2 separate regions of the Homo sapiens genome follow, and region 2 is linked to region 1. Evidence: promoter capture Hi-C in 16 types of primary human blood cells and fetal thymus (Javierre and others, 2016). All regions are on one chromosome and are shown on one strand. Each heading gives the region's core, a stretch centred on a gene start or on the middle of the fragment in contact. The rest is flanking DNA. Distances are from core to core; before and after follow the strand shown. Region 1 holds the start of C16orf95 (chromosome 16 open reading frame 95). Region 2 overlaps JPH3 (junctophilin 3).

What was found. Contacts are between HindIII fragments. The CHiCAGO score rates a contact against its expected background, and 5 or more counts as called.
Region 2: a fragment that was not itself captured here is called in contact with the fragment with the promoter of C16orf95 in region 1 in 1 of 17 cell types (M0 macrophages); the score reaches 5.4 in M0 macrophages.

The regions. Positions count from the first base shown.
Region 1 is chr16:87,314,037-87,320,283 of GRCh38, reverse strand. It overlaps C16orf95 (chromosome 16 open reading frame 95), which reads left to right and starts at 2,892. Exons shown (of 7, transcript NM_001195124.3): 1 at 2,892-3,193; 2 at 4,461-4,512; 3 at 5,188-5,313. The coding sequence starts at 3,042. It overlaps C16orf95-DT (C16orf95 divergent transcript), which reads right to left and starts at 2,775. Exons shown (of 2, transcript NR_135180.1): 1 at 2,562-2,775; 2 at 2,241-2,427. It overlaps LOC124903787 (small nucleolar RNA U13), which reads right to left and starts at 5,564; the gene lies at 5,461-5,564. RefSeq lists enhancers at 2,865-3,314, 4,571-5,071. The HindIII fragment of the contact is 6,644 bases long and covers 1-4,440 here.
Region 2 is chr16:87,645,231-87,651,477 of GRCh38, reverse strand. The region is part of intron 2 of JPH3 (junctophilin 3); the gene reads right to left. Among named protein-coding and RNA genes, the nearest start is that of JPH3, 46 kb to the right of the region's middle. The HindIII fragment of the contact is 3,137 bases long and covers 1,266-4,402 here.

The DNA of each region.
Region 1 (6,247 bases), core at 1,643-4,142:
CAAGCAACTCTCGCAGTTGGAAGGAGCCATTAGCAGGTGAAAGTGAGGCTGTTTGCCTCAGTGGCCCACTGCTTCTCTGCCCTGTCTAGCCAGGTTGATGGTCCCCTCTGGTCTGGTGGTAGCTTCTGCTGCTCAGGTGTCAGGCCTCTCTGCAGGGCCACCACTAGCCCAGGGTGCTCCTGTGTAAGTTCACATATGGCGCTGCTTTGGAGCAGGCTAAGGCCCAGGCTGGGGTGCATGACTTGGTTAGCTGAGCACAGGATAAATGCAAGCCTCACTTGTGTTCTTGGCAAGGGACCCTTGATTAGTGAAGAAACCACACAACTGTGCCCAGGAACCCTGCTTCTGTCTGGGTATAGGCTGCCTGGGGAGGTGTGATCTGGGAGGAACCTGCAACTCTCTCCCTGGGATCAAGGAGGTTCTGTGGGTTTGGCTTGGGTACCCATTACCTTGGGTTCACAAAGATCTCATTCTGCTCCTCTTTCCCTCTACTTGGGGGCTTTGGAAACAAAAGCCTAAAACAGGCAGTGGTAGTGGCCAAACTTCCAGCCTGAAGCACACTCACGTCACAAACTGACGTGTGCTGGACTCTGTCTGGCTTTTTTTTTTTTTTTCCTTGAGACAGGGTCTGGCCCTGTCACCCGGGCTGGATGGAATCATGGCTCATTACATCCTCAACCCCCTGGGCTTAAGTGATCCTCCCACCTCAAACTCCCAAGTAGCTGGGACCACAGGCATGTGCCACCATGCCTAATTTTTAAATTTTTTGCAGAGATGAGGTCTCACTACGTTGCCAAGGCTGGTCTCAAACTCCTGGGCTCAAGAGATCTTCCCACCTTGGCCTCCCAAAGTGCTGGGATTACAGATGTGAGCTACCATGACAGTCCCTGGTTTTTGAGCACCTTTCATGCTCTTTCATATTTGATCTTCTGAAACTTCCTTGGGATTGGTTCTATGGTTATCATTATTTTAGACATAAAACTGAAGCTCAGAAAAGTTAGGCAACTTGTCTGATACCTGTCTCTGATAAGAGGCAGAGCAAGGATTGGGATCTAGGCCTTGTTACTCAGAGCACAGGGGCAGGGTGGCTGGAGTTTCCTTCACATCCCCAGCCTGTGTCATGATGGATTTGCTTTCCTGGTTTTGAACATCACACACATGGAATTGTCTGTACATTCTGGGGTCTGACTTCATTGTACACTTCATCCACATTGTTGTGGGTTGTGGTTGTGTGCCCATTTCCATTGTTGTACAGAATTTCCTCTCTGTGAACATGCCATACTTTCTTTTTAAAATCTTTTTTTCCTATGGATGGACATCTGGATCATTTCCAGTTTGGGGCCATCAGGAAGAAAGCTGCTGTGGGTAGTTTTGTTCATGTCTTCTGGTACACATAAGCTCTCATTTCTCTTGGGTGAGTTGAGGAATTAGTTGGTCATCAGGTATTCATATGTTTAGGTTTTGTAAATACTACCAGTTTGCCAATGTGGTTTTATCAATTTCATGAGCCATGTATGAGGGTTCCAGCTGTGACATCCTCGACAAACTAGGTATTGTCAGTCCTTTTAATTTTAGCCATTCTTGGGTGGGTGAGGGCAGTGAAGAGCTATTCTTGACATGGAATGACAAGACCTAGTGTGCCCGAGGTGAAGGCCTGAGCGTCCAGGGGAGCATGAGCCTGTCTTCTATGCCCTGCTGTGCTATGGCAGTGTTTCAGTGTGCTCTGGAGGAAAACAGCAGAGAAGCCGAGTGCTCCAAAGTGGGCAGAAATGAGACAGGCATAATGTGCTAGGCTAATGGTGACTCTTGGAATTTTGTCATTAGCTACAAAGAGGGCAGTGACATGATTTACACACACACACGGGGTGGGGTATCTGAAATATTAGGCAGCTAGTATGGCAGGGGCACCGTCTAATCAGCATGGATGCTGGCCAGGAGAGGACATGTGTATGTGCTGGCTGGAAACAGTCCTGCTCATAGGTCACGATCTTAATGATTAAATAACAAGGCAAGAAATCCGAGAGGGCAGTGCCTGGGAGCACCCTGTTTGCTCTGTGGCCAGAACGCAGCACACTGAAGTATTGCCCATCAGGGTAAGAGGTGCTCGTGATGGTTTGGGCAAATACAAATATTAATCCAGAGTATTTGAGTCTACATGAAAATACTGAAAAGTGAGGGAAGACCCAACCGTTTCCAAGAAATACAAATTGGAACTGGCGATAACTTAAAGAACATAATCAGAGAGGCAGAGGGCATTGGGTTTTACTAAAATATGAAGACATACGTCCTGTCTCCACGTCAGCAACTGCCCAAAGTACACGCGTTCCAGCGAAAAGAGCGGGTGGGGTGGGGAGGCTCAGGGCCAGCCAGAGCTTCGGTGCTTGCACGCCCAGGCCTCCGGGTGACGACTGCTTCCAATTCCGCGCCCTTTAAACCCCATGTTGTTAAAAAAAAAAAAAAAGAAAGAAAACCTATTTCTCTAAAAGTCACGATTCGAGCCCCACCTGAGGACGCAGCGATCCAGCGCCAACTCATTATCTGAGATAAAGGAGTGATTTTACCAGAAGCGCCTATGCAAGACGCAGGGCCCCGCGCGGGCTGCTCCCACCTCTTTCTCTCCTTGCAGGCTACCGAGACCCTGGCTGGGGCGGCCGGCGGCCCCTCCGGCCCATCCGTCGGAAATGATGAGTGGCTCCAGTGGCCGGGGTCCGCAGGACCTACCCCAGCGGGCATGGCGGGAGCCCCGCAGCCCCACACAGCCGCGCTCTGAGCCGCTGACCCCGCGTCTCTCGTGAGGGACCAATCAGCTGCCAGCTAAGGTCACATACCTAGAAGGCCAATTTTGATTGGCTGGGCGCGGGCTAGTCAGCGGGACGGGCGGGCGCGCGGGCGTTGTTGGGCTCCTCTGAGCGGTTGAGGTTGGGGCTGGGGTTGAGCTCGGGTTGGGTTCCTCCTGGGGCAGGAGGGAAAGGCGGGAGCCAGGGCGTCAGGGCCTGCGGACGATGTGTGTGTGAAAGGGCGCGTCAGCCATAAGAAGCCATATGCGTGCGAGCCGGTCCCCACCGTCCCCGCGGCGTTGTCACCATCATCATGAGGCCACTGGAGCAGCCTCAGGCGCTGCTGCCGGGGGGCCGGGCGCGGGGTGCGTCGGGCTCTGCAGGTTGGCACTCACACCCAGCGCGCAGGATGGCAGGCAAGTGAGTCCTGAATCCTGCCCGCGGCTACCCGACACCTCGCCTGTGAGTTCCCGGCCCGGCATTGCTCCATGACCTATGCACAGGCAGAACTCTTGACCGCCACCCACAGGAACCTCACTTACATTGGCTTAACAAAAACGCAACTGATGGTTCCACATAACTGAAAATGTCAGAAGTAGGCCTTCAGGCATGGATGTATCCAGGTACACATTGACCATGGTCCTGGAAGGTTTCTCTCCATCTCTCAGCTTCCTTCCTTTTTGCTGGCTTCCCTTGTGGAGGCAAGATGATCACCAGGACCTCCTGAGGTTTACATGTTATCAGATTATCAACCTCAACAAAAAGGAGATTCTTTTTTTTCCCAGCTTTCCAGGCTGGGCAGTGGTGAGTTTGGCCCACCTGAACTACAAGGACTGAGATGGCTGTGGCCCCCCCCCTCCCCACCAGGAATATAGCAGTGCTGTCATTACCAGAAGGGGCCTCGGATGCTGTGGAGGGCAGTGCCCCATCCTCTGTTTTCAAGCATTATCTGGGAGAGTTGATGCGTGAACCTATTACTCTCACAAAAATAGCAATAATAATAATGGTTATTATGACAATGAAACCCAAAAACACTTATATCGCTCTTACGGTTTCCACATACAAAGCACTTTGACCCACTACTGTCAGGGAAGCAGGGCTTTGCACCCACTGGAGACGCTTCATCCAGCCAACATTCAAGCAGTTTGTTGGGGAGTGGAACAGGGAAGAGCCACACAGGCTGTGTAACCCCAAGTGCTTTGTCATCCCAGAGACAAAGCACCCGGGTTTTTATAGTGGAAGGAGGTTCATTAATGGACAGTTTGACGATGTTTTTTCTTCAGTATTTCAGTAAGTTGAGGGTGTCTGACAGATCATCCTAGGTGATGTGATTGGCAGCTACATGTCTTGGAAAGTTCTCAGCAGGTTGGAATGCTCCTGTCTTTTCTGATGCTCCAAGCACAAGTGTAGCTGGAGTCAGCTTGAAGCTGGTTGGCTTGGGAATGCAGGATTCCATGACAGCCAGCCCCCAGGAGCCCCTAGACATTCACGCATGAGCTAGCACACGCCTGCTTCTGATGTCACCCTCTCACTCTTCTTGGGCTCAGAGGATCCCCCCATCCCCACCACCCGTGGGCTTTATTATTAAGAGTCAGTTCTGAGAAGACAGGTCCAGGCCTGTGCTCTAGCATCCCTGCCCCCTAGTTTACACAAACCCTAAGCTTTTCTGTTCTTCTCTTCTAGGAATAGCACATTTCAAACCTACAAGAAAGAAGTGTGCCTCCCCCGTCATTCGGTAAGGAAAGCAAATCCTCAGCCACTGGCCCTGACCCCAACATATCCCTGTGGGGTGAGGAGAGCAGGGAATGTGGGTCCAGAAGCTGCATCCCATGAGAGAATCCTCCAAACACAAAAGTGTGGTTGCAGGAGCTATCCCTGGGCCTCCAGAACACCTCCCAGGCCCTCACAACACCTCAGAGTTCAGGAGGCCACCTAATATACCTGCTCTGGGCATCAGCTTCTCCGTGTGCCCCTGGAGGTGATGGCAGCACCTCTCCTTCCTGCCTGAGGGTGTTGCGAAGGTCACATGGGATGGATGTGGAAGCTCTTGCACACCAGAGTGTGACAGATGGCCATAAAGGCAGCACTCATGTGCGCATAAGCTCTAGAGCTGCTTGTACATGCCCATTTTCAGAGGGGACCACGAGACTTGCTCATTGTAGCACAGCAGGAAGCAGCTGAGAATCCCAGCGCACCTGATTTGCAAGCTCCGGGGGATCCCCCTCCAAATGACCTTGGAGGCCTCAGGGCGAGCCACGGTAGCCTGCCTCTTTCCAAGCTGCAGTAGGAGCTGGGGACCCTGCCCCCGGACACCATCTTCCTGAGCACGGATCTACTGTGCTTGAGAGCCTCCTGTCTCCCTGCAAATGCAGCATCAAGCTCAGTTCTGTCATTTCTGGATCTTACTCAGATGCACCCTGGCCCCTGGGCCATCTGCTGTGAATGCCAGACCAGATTCGGGGGCCGCCTGCCTGTGTCCAGGGTGGAAGCAGCACTGCCTTACTGGGTCCCTCTGTCCCTGAGACCCCGAAAGCAGGTAGGTGACTTGAACCAGGAGGTCTTCCCCTAGGGTCCAGGGTGAATGTCAGTTGACCAGTCACCCCTCAGAATTAGAAGTATTATATGAATGGATATTTTAACATTTCAGGGAGACAGTTTGATATTATTTATTTATTTATTTTCATGTCAGATGGGTAATGTGCTGTCGTTGTAGCAAGGTCTGAGGGAGGCACACCTCACACATGTGCATGAGTACCCAGTTATCATGCTTATGAACTATAAAAGGATCTGTGATTTTTAAACAGTTTTTTCTAAAAACTAGACTTCTAGAGGTTTGATTGGCATGTGATAAACTGCACGTGTGTCAAATGTACAATGTGGTAAGTCTTGCCGTAGGTATTCCCCCCTGAACCCACCACCACCATCAAGATAATGAGCATATACACAACCCTTAATCATGTCCGTGGGCTCCTTTGTAACTTTACCCAACATTCCATACCCTGACATCCCCAGGCAACCACTGACCTGCTTTCTGTCACTGTAGATTAATTTGCATTTTTGATGATTTTATATAAATGGGGTCATAGACTTTGTACTCTTTTGTCTGGCTTCTTTCACTTGGCATAATTATTTTGAGATTCTTCTATGTGATCATGGGCATCAATAGTCATTCTTTTTATTATTGAGTAATGCTGCATTATGTGAATAGGCCACAGTTTATTCATTCGCCCAGAAGGACATTTGGGTTGTTTCTACTTCTTATGTGTTACACACAAAGCTGCTATGAACATTTGTGTACAAGGCTTTGTATGCACATATGCCGTCATTCTTCTTGGGTAAATACCAAGGAGTGGAATTCCTGAATCATATGGTAGGTGTATGTTTAACTTTAAAAAAGAAACCTGTTGACTGTTTTCCACCATTTTACATCTCTACTAGCAGTGTCTAAAGTTCCAGTTCCTCACATCGTC
Region 2 (6,247 bases), core at 1,585-4,084, 330 kb before region 1:
ATCTAGAATGGTGAATCCTTTCCAGAAGGTTTTCAATGGACTTTGCCCAGATCCATCAGAGAAATCACTATCTATGGCAGCCTTACTAAATGTATTTCTTAAATAATAAGACCTCAAAGTCAAAATTAGTCCTTGATCCACAGCTGCATGCTGGATGTTATGTTAGCAGGCACGCAAACAACATTCATCTTCCTGTACATCTCCATGGGCGCTCCGGGGTGAGTAGTAATATTTTAAAAGGAATCTTTTTCTGAGCAGTAGATCACAACACTGGGCTTAAAACTATTCTGGAAACCATGCTGTAAGCCGTGCAGCCATCCAGGTCTTTGTTGTTCCATTTCTAGAGCACAGAGTGGATTTTACACAATTCTTATGGGCCCTAGGATTTTTGGAATGTTCAATGAACACTGGCTTCAAGTTAACATTTCCAGCTGTGCTGGCCCCTAACAAGAGAGTCAGCCTGTCCTTCAAATCCAGCCATTAGCTTCTTCCTAGCATGAAAGTCCTAGATGGAATCTCCTTCCAATAGAAAGCTGTTCCATCGACACTGAAAATCTGTTTAGTGTAGCCACCTTCATCAACAATCTTAGCCAGATCTTCTGGGTAACCTGCTCCCTCACCTTGCACTTTATGTTCTGGAAGCGGCTTCTTTCCTTAAACCTGATGAACCAGCCTCTGCTCGTTTCCAGCTCTTCTGCAGCTTCCTCACCTCTCTCAGCCTTCACAGCATTAGAGTTGAGCCTTGCTCTGGATCAGGCTTGTGGTTAGTTTGATCTTCTCTTCAGACCCTAAAATTTTCTCCATATCAGCAATAACATTGTTTCACTCCCTTATCATTCATGTATTCACTGGAGTAACACTTTAATTTTCTTCAATTACTTTTCCTTTACATTCAAAACTAGGCTGCCTGGTGCATGAGGCCTGTCTCGGCTTTTGACACACCTTCCTCTCTACGCTTTATCATTTCCAGCTTTTGATTTAAAGTGAGAGATGTGAGACTCTTCTTTCACATGAACACTTAGAGACCATTGGAGTGTTATTAACTGGCCTAATTTTAATACTGTTGTGTCTCAGGGAATAGGGAGACCAGAGGAGAGAGAGGGATGGGGGAGCGGCTGGTTGGAGGATTGGTCAGAACACAGAGCATTTATTAAGTTCACTGTCTTATATGGGTGCGATGTGTGGCATCCCAAAATAACCACACTAGTAACCTCAAAGACCACTGATCACAGATCACCATGAACAGATATAATCATGAAAAAGCTTGAAATACCGTGAGAATTACCAAAGTGTGGCACGGACACACGATGTGAGCACGTGCTGTTGGGAAAACGGCACCAAGAGGCTTGCCCCATGCACGGGTGCCACAAACCTCCAATGTGTAAAAACACAGCGTCTGCAAAGCACAATGAAGCGAAACCCCCTGAATCAAGGTGGGCCTGCCCCCAGAACAATCCCTTCTCCTCCTCTCAGCTTGGGTTTCTGCTTTGCAAAACCCCTTGGCATCCCTTCACAGCAACGTTTGCACGAGACGCAGCAGAGAGGGGGTCCCAGCAGAAACAATCCCATCAAATCCTGGCTGAGCTTTTGCAGGCTTTGCGGGGCTGCAGGAGGCATAGCTTTCACATGGGCCACCCCGTCTCTCCCTCTCCCGCAGCAGAAGCAGCCAATGGGTCACACTTGAGATGTCTCCTTCACCCTGGGGTTCTGAGCAGGTCCCAGGGGCCAAAGTGGGGAGGGGGACGGGAAGGAGAAACGGGCTACAATCTGCCCCATCGCCCCCAGCTCGGCTTCCACCAGAGCTTTCTGCTTTTATTTGGTTTCCACGGCGGGTGGGGATGAGGGGGCTGTGAGAGTTGTTGTGGCAGAGGGTCTCAGCTGTTGAAAATGAAGCCATGTCACACTGCAGGACTTTCTTCTCTAGGATGGGTGACACATTTACATTCCGATTCCCAACCCAGGGCCTCTAGTGAGCAGCAGATCAAGGACAGCAATTGAGTTTCATCTTCTAGAGCAACCCGGGCTTCGAGGAGGACTGTGATGAATTCCTATGTCCACCCGGGGACAGCGAGGCATTCAGGACAGGCAGCGCCGTGCAAAGGTGCCCTGTGTGTGCCCTCCTGGCAGGAGATGAGTCATGAAAACGTCTTGAGTGTGTGAAGGCAGGAGGGGCCGAATGCCCTGTGGTGCACTGCTAGGCGACACGGCAGGATGGGGCCATCTCAGACTTTCACTAGTGGGAGTTCCCACTGGGGTGAGGCTGACCCCACAGGAGAATGACACAGAAGAGACTGCAGCCCCTTCTCACATGACCTCAGCTCCGCGGGGCCACTGGCTCCCGCCCCTCTCTGCAGCAGAGGGTCTCACCCAGACGGAACCTCCTGGAACCACCAGCTTCACCCCTCCCTCGTCTCCACTGCCACACCCTTGCTGGGCTGGACTCTGCCTCCGACCCGTGTTGTGGCTGCGTGTGTGATGCCTCATCTCCCCGTGGGGCCAAGGCCTCCCGGCGGCAGCACCCACACCAGACAGGAGACAGCCGGGGACGCTCAGGCCAGCAGCATCTGCGTCCTGGGGACCAGGTCAGCATGCAGGTGCTGGGGCCCCCACCTAGACATGATGAGACAAAGTCTGGGGCGTGGGGCCTGACCACCATTTCTACAAGCCCTCCAGGCACCTGGAGAGCCTCGAAGGCTCCGAACACTGGGCGCATCCCAAACAATGATGTCACATGGCCGAGGAGGGTATCCATCCTGTGCCTTAGAACCCATGGTGACTCCACCCTGGGCTGAGTCCCAGCTCCCCCTCTCCCAGCCCAGGGCCGGGGCCAGTCCCCTTAGCAGTGCAGGACCTCAGTCTCTCCGAGCTCCACACCTCCCGCCCCGTTTTCCAGGAAAACCCACTTCCCTTCCCTGCAGAGCTGCTCTCCGGGGAAGGGCCCGGCACTCCGCGGAGGACACCGCAAACCGTTTCTCACTTCACGCGGCCTGACAAGCCCTGCCGGCCGGGGCGGGTGAGGACAGTGCCAGCTGCCCTACAACTCCCTCGCATCTCTCGACTGTGATAGTGGCAGGAGCCCGCCCGGGGCCAGTCACTCCTCAGCCCACGTGGTGCGGCCGCTCTCATGCTCCAGTGGAGGGTTGGCCCTGGGGCTGTGGGCGCCTGAGCCAGCCATTCATCAGCTTCACTCTCCAGGGCGGCAGACTCTCTTCCCTCCTTTTTTTCCTTTTTTTTTTCCCCAAATTCTAAGTCCATTGAGAAAGCACAGCTCCAGGCCCTGCAGCCCAGAATGCAGGCTCATCCTCCATCCTCTGATGACCAAAAATACTGTGTAGCCTCCCACCTCCAAGGGTCGCACCAGTGAGCTCACAAACACACCTGCCTCCCATGCCTGTCACAGCAGGGCTGGGGGAGGATGACACCAATGGAGATGGTGCAACCACAGGCCCGGCCCCACGCCGAGGCCACTACAGGGAGCAGGGAGCCCCGCCCCCCTTCAGCAGGGAACCCAGCCCAGAGAGGGGAGGCGACCGGCCTGGGGCACTCAGCCACGACAGCCCAGGCTGGATGTGGGTCTGCGGGTCTCAGAGGCAAGGGTGAGACGCCAGTTCCTAGTGCCCCTTTGAGGCCTGACACCTCCTCTCTTGGACACTTTAAGTTCCAGTGACCTGGAGACCTCCACCTAGGCGCACCTGTGCAGCCGTACACCCTGGCTCCACAGGTGCGCATGGACGTGCTGGCTGTGCACAGCGGTGAGGAGGCCGTGAGTGGTGTGCAGAGCCGTGTGTGTGGACAGCAGGACATGGCGGGTGAGCCAGTCCCTTTCTCACAAAGGAGCTACGATCCAAGACCCCAGTTGTGCGCATGCGGAAGCAGGAACCACCTCCCTCCCCGCGACGCCCGCTCGGGCGAAGGGACGGAGTCAGCTCGGACTCCGCCAGTGCAGAAGGCAAGCCGCAACCTGCCAGGGAGCATGGGCTGCTGGGCCTCAAAGGCTGTCGGGGGGTTGGCAGGGGGTGGGCTCCGTCAGTTTCACAGCTGCACCAGCCTGCAAACCCATCCTTTCCCTCTCACTCCCTCCACCCGTCTGTCTGTCCTTCTGTCCATTAAGTAAAATGCCTCCCCAGGAGACACAGGGATGCTGGCCATGCCAAGGCTGGCTGGCCAGCGTCCCAAGGGCTGGGGACTCAGTAGGAGCCGTGCCCACCCCACCCTGGCCCCGGCTCCTTTGCATGGGTCTCAGGTCTCGCCCTCCCGGCCCAGCCCCTGGGCTTTCACCCCAGCATGATGCCCACTTATACGTAGGCATCTCCCCCAGCAATGCTCCACAGAGCCCCTGGGCCCCCCAAAACCCCAGGAAGAGGTTGGATGCCCCAGGAAGGGAGCTGTTACCACCTAAGCTTCACAGGCCTTCAGAGATTAGAAGTTGAGGTCCAGAGAGGCTGACAACCTGCCTTGGAGCAGCTCCTCACCTGTGCTGCCCCCAGCCCTGTCCATGCCACCTGGGCTCCTTAATGGGAACCCGCTTCTCTTAATGTCTAGGGGAATTCGTCTGAAAACTATCTCAGGTCGCAGGTCCCCCCAGTCCTACAGACATCCACCCAGTGCCAAGGCTGTGAAATAAGCTCAGTCCTGCAGGGCACTGTCCACTAAGTCCTCGAGCTGCTGAGAACTCATGAACCAATGAACTCATGAACCAATCTGCAGGTCACACGGAAGCTGCCACGAGCTTCCTCAATTCCGTGACGCCGCTGTCCCCCAGCCCCCAAAACTGCTTCTTGTCCACTAGGGTCAAAAAAGCAACTATACAAAATAGAAAGGGTCGAAAAACAAAACACAGAGGAAAGAAATTCACCAAAATGCCAAGGAGAGCGCTCGGCCGATCCATCAGACCAGAGCTAATGCTGCTTTCTCCCTTCTCAGTGTTATTTATTTTCCTGTGGAACAAGTATTACATTTATGATGGAAAAAATAACTACTGATTCTAATTTGTTCTTAAAACCCCAGATGAGTAGTCACACGTGGGCTGCTGTTTATTTCCCTGCCTGAACATTTCTGAGGGAGCAGGGAGGGGCAAACAGCGAGTTTGGACCTCGGTGTCAGGTAGTAATTCCATGTTTCTTTCAGCTTCTTGGAATCGATCTTGATTCCCTCTAAAACAATAGAAGTCGCGAGCAACATATTCTGCCAACAAACCGCAGCCACCATTTTTGTTTTTCACTATAGATCAAAGGTCACTGAAAATCAGAACCAAATGGGCTGAACTTTAATTAGCGACAGGTCGGGAAGGGCTGAGCCGCACCCAGGCTGGGAGCTTTCCTGGAGGAACTCCAGGTCTGCCCCTGGCTGAGAACACAAAGCCATCCAGAAAGACGCAGGGGAACGTGCCCTGGGAAGCCTCCTGCCTGGGCAGCCCATGGACTCCCCCGCAGCTCCCAGATCCCTGCCCCAAGACTCTCCGGGCTACCCCAAGGGCCCTCGTCTGGCCCAGGAAAGCAAATGCCGGTGGAAAGCAAAGGCTCTGGGTTTTCTGAAATGCCTTCCCAAGTCTTGACAAAGCCCTTTAGTAACCTCAGTTACTTTAGAACCCAAATGCCTACCTGTGGGGCCCGTGGCTTTCCACAGGGGAACTTCCTCCAACCTGCAGCAGGTGGCTCCTGCCAGCCACAGCTTGGCGGGGACCAGCCCCTGGCTCACACACTCACCTCCACAGGAGCCAGACCCTGGGCACCTTCCTCCAGCCCTAAAGGCCCCATCCTGCACCCACCCCTAAAGGTACCCAAAAGCCACGTCGATCCCACCCACAGTCACCTCTGGACCCATTCCTTAGGGCCTAGAGGCCCCACTGGACCCCAAATTCCGTAAGTCATGCAGCCGATTCAGAACAGCGGCTGCCCCCAAAGCACCAGGCCTGCATGAGCCCCTTGCCAGGCACTCGGAATTGGCCTCCCAACTGCTGCCATCTCCCAGGGTCCCGGAAGAATCTAGATCGCAGGTCTGGGTAGCTGAGGCAGCTCCTAGCCACCTCCCACAGCCCTGCAGTGCTGGACCTGCCACCCCCACCTGGTGGTGTCACCCCTACTAGCTAGCACAGCAGCACTCCAATGCATTGTACTAACGGAACAGACCACCTTCTTTATTCACCAATATTTTACACTAAACATCAGCATATAGAACAAAGAGACACTGCTCAGTTTAAGGAGGCTGTAGGCCTCTACACCCCCACAAATCAACCATTCCTCTGCAC